2 separate regions of the Homo sapiens genome follow, and region 1 is linked to region 2. Evidence: promoter capture Hi-C in 16 types of primary human blood cells and fetal thymus (Javierre and others, 2016). All regions are on one chromosome and are shown on one strand. The core of a region is centred on a gene start or on the middle of the fragment in contact, and the rest is flanking DNA. Distances in the headings are between cores, read along the strand shown.

Region 1 (2,930 bases), core at 393-2,892, 210 kb before region 2:
GGGAGGGAGGGAGGGAGGGAAGGAAGCAAGGAAGGAAGGAAGGAAGGAAGGAAGGAAGGAAGGAAATATGAAAACTACTGAGAGGCCAGGCACAGTGGCTCACGCCTGTAATCCTAGCACTTTGGAAGGCTTGAGCCCAGGAGTTCGAGACCAGACTGGGCAACACGGGGAAGCCCCGTCTCTATGAAAAATACAAAAATTAACCAGGTGTGGTGGTGCATGCCTGTAGACCCAGTTACTTTTAGGGCTGAGGTGGGAGGCTCACCTGAGAGTTTGAGGCTGGAGTGAGCTGAGGTTACACCACCGCATAACAGCCTGAGCAACAGAGCAAGGCCCGGTCTCAAAACAACAACAACAACAACAAAAACAAAAACTACGGTGGCTCACGCCTGTAATCCCAACATTTTGGGAGGCCGAGGTGGGCCGATCACTTGAGGTCAGGAGTTCCAGACCAGCCTGGGCAACACGGTGAAACCCCGTCTCTACTAAAAATACAAAAATTAGCCGGGCATGGTCGTGGGCGCCTGTAATCCCAGGTACACGGGAGGCTGAGGCAGGACACTGCACTCCAGCCTGGGTGAAAGAACCAGACTCTGTCTCAAAAAAAAAAAACTACTTAGAAATATGATGAAATGTTATAAATGATGAAAGTATACAATATAATACAACTAGGTAAGAATGTATGCATAAACACCGGTAATAAGAAAAATGAAAAATTCTTTAATGTAGTGGTAGCCAACTATATTTTAAAATATTCTTTAATGTTTTTATATCATCTTTTAAATACACCAATAAAAAGAAAGAATAGTAGTTAGCTAGTAGAATTTCTCAATACTCTGCTTCTATTAGGGTAGGGCACGGAGTGGTCCTTGCTAAGATGTTGATGGGTATTAGTAAATTTATGAGCAATACATTTCCAGATAGAGAGGCCATAGTAGACTCCAGTGGTTAAAAGCCTCGGGATTCAAATCAGGCAACCAATTGCTGAGTTGGATTCCTCTTTCTTCACTTGCTTGCATGAGTGGCCTTGAGCAAGCTGTTTGACTTTTCTAAATCTTTCTGATTTGTAAAATGGGAGTGATAGGCAGAACCAATTTCATAGAGTCATTGGAAGTAGTCAGTGAGATAAAGTACATAATATAGTGCTAGGTGCATTGAAAAATTATTCAATAAAGGTTTGTTGTTTGTGCTGTTAATAATGATGATGGTGGTGGTGGCGGTTGTGATAAACTGAGGGCTTCCAGGGAAAGTACTTTCACTTAAAGGTCTGATGTCACTTAAAGGATGCTACTCAAATAATACTATCCCTATATGTGGAGCCAACTAAAATTTTGAAAGGTAATTTTATGTTATTTATTGATTTACTTTTAATTGACAAATAATCACGGCTTTTATTTTATTTTATTTTTGAGATGGAGTCTCGCTCTGTCGCCCAGGCTGGAGTACAGTGGCACGATCTCGGCTCACTGCAACCTCCACCTCCCAGGTTCAAGCGATTCTCTTGCCTCAGCTTCCTGAGTAGCTGGGACTACAGGAGCGTGCCACCACACGCGACTAATTTTTGTATTTTTAGTAGAGTAGGGGTTTTGCCATGTTGGCCAGGCTGGTCTCGAACTCCTGATCTCAGGTGGTCCACCCGCCTCGGTCTGCCGAAGTTCTGGGATTACAGGCATGAGCCACGGCGCCCGGCTCACTCTGTATCTTTATGGGGTGCAATGTAATGTTTCTTCAGATGTATACATCATGGAATGATCAAATCAGGCTAATTAACATATCCATCATCTCAAATGTTTCTTTGTGTTGAGAATATTTAAAATCATCTCTTTTAGCTATTTTGAAAGATATAATACATTATTATTAACTGCAATCATGAAAGTTATTTTTTCCAAGTTTCCACAAGCAGCACTGAAAAGTTGTTTTTAATACACTTTTTAAGATAAACTTTATTTATTTATTTATTTATTTTTTGAGACAGAGTCTTTCTCTGTCACCCAGTCTGGAGGGCAGTGGCATGATCTCAGCTCACTGCAACCTCCGCCTCCCAGGTTCAAGTGATTCTCCTGTCTCAGCCTCCTGAGTAGCTGGGATTACAGGTGCCCGCCATCACGCCTGGCTAATTTTTGTATTTTTAATAGAGATGGGGTTTCACCATGTTGGCCAGGCTGGTCTCGAACTCCTGGCCTCAGGCAGTCTGTCCAGTTCAGTCTCCCAAAGTGCTGGGATTACAGGCATGAGCCACCGTGCCCAGCCCACTTTATTTTTTTAGAGTAATTTTAGGTTCACAGCAAAATTGAATGAAAGGTGCAGAGATTTCCCATAGATCCCCTGTCCTCACATAAGTACAGCCTCCCCTGCTATCAACATCCAACACCAGGGTGGTACCTTTGTTATACAATGGACCTACATTGACACATGACTATTACCTGAAGTCCACAGTGTACCTTAGGTTTTACTCTTGGTATTGTACATTGTGTGGGTTTTACGTAAAATGACAGGTATTCACCATACAGAGTAGTTTCACTGCCCTAAAAATCCTCTGTGCTTTACCTATTCGTCCTTCTCTTTCCCCAACCCCTGGAAGCCACTGACAACTTTTAGTATCTCCATAGTTCTGTCTTTTCCACCATGGCATATAGTTGGAATTACACAGTATGTAACCTTTTCAGATTGGCTTCTCTCTTGAAAGGTATTTTTTTAATGAACAGTCTAGAGGACCAGGTGAGGGTTTTGATTTTCGACTAGATAATACAAAGATAACTACTACCAGTGATTGTGTTTGGTTCTTTATGCATGTTATCTCCAGAAGATAAATGTTATTATCCTTATTGGTAGAACAATTGTTCAAGGTCACAAAGCCAGGAAGTAGAGGAGCTAGTATTTGAATCCAGTGTGTCTGACTCCAATGTTTTTATGTTTTCATCATGCCACTG
Region 2 (2,970 bases), core at 314-2,813:
CACTCCTAATGTTCATACAATGAGGAGATAACCTAACAACCCATTTCTCAGAATGTATCCCTGTTGTTAAGTGACATATGACTGTACTCTGATTCCCTCATTAGATAGAAAATGAAAAATTAAAGTTTAGAGTCTGAATCCAAAGTCACCCAGCTAATTGGAATAAAAACAAAAAGGGTACAGATTAGAAAAGCACTCTTCTCGTAATAACTGTGTTCTTGACCACCCAGTTGGCATTCATCTCTGCGTCTCAAACACCTCATGGGACCTCTTGCTAAGCTGGGTTTTCCCCAACAAATCCAGGTTCATCTGACACTGGCTTCGAACAAGGCTGCTCTTGTCCACAACATAAGAAAAAACAGGAAATGATGACAACTAGACATATGCTACAGAAAATGAGTGTATAACAAGAAGAATAGAAGTTGCTGAAACCAAGATTGAAAGAGTGACATTAGGACAGGAAATAAAGGCGATGATAATCACTTCAGATAATTAACCATTGGGATGTTATGTGGGTATGGATACGGAAGAGTGTGGAAGGGATAGGATAACATCAACTGGAGTACGTAAGGGGGCTGGCTGTTTAATCTGCTTAATAGTTGCTACGATTTCCACAGCACTAACAGAAAAACATTTTTTTTAAAGAGACATACACACAAATATAGAGTACTCCGTTTACAAATAAGATTCTCATGACAGGAGTCCAGCTCCAGCCTGGTCACATGCCTGGATGACAGCACCTGAGCGCAGCAGATGCTCAATCTAAATGAAACTCGACGCTCTGGATAGAGCCAAGGAAGGCTCCTGCTATTCGGGGGTCCTCGAGGGAGCCATTAAAACCTCGGCTTCCTCATTTGAGGAAACAGCCTGAGCCAAGGAGAAAATTGAAGTCCTCTCAGCTGCAGCTGCTCACCCACCCCCCTCCCACCTCCCTCCACAGAGAAAAGCACCCACTCCATTGACTCTGAGGGGTCACGAGAAGGTTCGGGAAAAAGGGTCACAGTCAAGCCACCCAACCCAGCCGGCCTTCTCCCATCACTACTTGGGTGCGAGCATACCCTCTCTGTCTCACCCCATGCCATCATCCGGGTAAGGTTCGTAGTCTTCCACACGCATATTATACTTCTTGGCGGCGGCGGCCCGTTCTTCTGGGGTCCTAGGATAGGGCCCCGGGAACATGTCCTTGGTCATGTGGGAGGCTAGAACGCAGAAGAGAACAGGTCAGAAGCGAGCCCGCTCTCCAGCCGCTCCGAAGGCTTCAAGTCGCAGGGGCTGCAGAGGTCCGAGCCCGGGACTTCGCAGGATCAGTGCGATCCTCCACCCCATTTTCTGGATATATCAACGCCACCTCCACTCCCTACCCGGAGGCTGCCGCCGCGGCATCTACGATCCCCCCTCCCGATACACCAAATTTCAGGTACCCCCTTCCCACACTGAGGTCTCGCCCGTTCTCGCGGACCTGTCCGTGCGCCCAGCGGCATCACGTTCCGGGATGCCCTTTGCAGCCACTGGACTCCCAAGACCCCGGCCCTGGCCACCGCCATCTTCACCTTCTTCACGTTTCCCTTCTGCACATGCGCAAAGGCCTGTCACGGCGGCTGAGCCGGGCCAAACGTGACGGAGGAAGCCGGGAGTGAAGAAAAGCCGAAGGGTTCAACAGGGGCGGGGTTTAAATACGCAGTTGGGAAGCCAAGGGTTGGATAGAGGCTGGGAAGGATAAGCGGGAAGAAGGGAAAACCAGGCAGGTCTCTGACATTTCAGAATGTTGTGTCCTTTTTCTCCCTGAGCTGACTTAGACCCATCCAGGGATGATGGGAACTCGGAACCTGAGCAACTCAGGTAGACAGCTTAACCACCTCCCCCAGGAGCTGTACTAGTGAAATGAGCCTGTCTTACTCTCTTCTCTGGCTGCTTGCTTTCCTCTCCTTCACGGGCACTTCCTTCCATCCCCAAACATGATCATTCTTCAAATTCACCTGTTGGTCTTGCTTGTTGTTCTGTTCTCCAAATGGGTTGATCTTCACTTAGACGCCAGTGCAACACACAATTCGGCCCTGAATTGGCTCCTTAGTTTCAGTCCGTGTTTCCATCTGCATGTCTCAGTCACCTCAACCCAACAAATGTAAAATTAAACTTATCACCAGAGGCAGCTCTCCAGAGACAGCTTAAAGCCTCAGAGTTGGTAGGACTTGGATAAAACAAATTACAAACCGGCCCATAATGAACAAACTAACTCAACAGAAGAATTGGAGACATTATTATGTTTGCATATGAATGTTTTCACTTGGGATTTGAATAACTTACACATTATAAATATGCACGTATTTCCAGTGACTTTTCAGGTGACCACTGTTTTGGAGCAGAACCTATTATTATAAACATTCTCAAGTATATATCAGAGCAATAAAAATGCATATAAGCTGGGAGCTGTGGCTCACACCTGTAATCCCAACACTTTGGGAGGCCTAGGTTGGAGAATGGCTGGAGACCAGGAGTTTGAGACCAGCCTGGGTGACATAGTGAGACTTCGTCTCTTTTTTTTTAAGTTATAAAAAGTAAACAAATATGGATATATACTATTTAATATATAAATTTTGGGAAGGACTACACAGCAACTTGCTGTCTTGTAAATGACATCACTAGTTGATGTTCAGAATAATTGCACAACATCTGCATTCAACCAATAGCAAACCCTGATCCAATTTAGGTCAAGAAACAGAGTTGATCTAATTTATTTATTTTTATTAAGATATTATTCACATACCATAAATTCACCCTTTTAGGCCGGGTGCGGTGGCTCACGCCTGTAATCCCAGCACTTTGGGAGGCTGAGGTGGGAAGATTACTTGAGGTTAGGAGTTCAAGACCAGCCTGGCCAACACAGCAAAAACCCATCTCTACTAAAAATACAAAAATAGCTGGGCATGGTGGTGTACACTTGTAATCCCAGCTACTCAGGAGGCTGAGGCA

The links. Contacts are between HindIII fragments. The CHiCAGO score rates a contact against its expected background, and 5 or more counts as called.
Region 1: a contact is called between a fragment that was not itself captured here and the fragment with the promoter of NDUFB8 in region 2, in 4 of 17 cell types (naive CD4 T cells, naive CD8 T cells, activated CD4 T cells and 1 more). The highest score is 8.9, in naive CD4 T cells.

Annotation. Positions count from the first base shown.
Region 1 is chr10:100,321,878-100,324,807 of GRCh38, forward strand. The region is part of intron 2 of PKD2L1 (polycystin 2 like 1, transient receptor potential cation channel); the gene reads right to left. Among named protein-coding and RNA genes, the nearest start is that of PKD2L1, 6.9 kb to the right of the region's middle. The HindIII fragment of the contact is 7,904 bases long and covers 1-2,930 here.
Region 2 is chr10:100,528,308-100,531,277 of GRCh38, forward strand. It overlaps NDUFB8 (NADH:ubiquinone oxidoreductase subunit B8), which reads right to left and starts at 1,564. Exons shown (of 5, transcript NM_005004.4): 1 at 1,460-1,564; 2 at 1,073-1,199. The coding sequence starts at 1,544. RefSeq lists enhancers at 259-428, 1,271-1,853, 1,987-2,036. The HindIII fragment of the contact is 5,505 bases long and covers 1-2,970 here.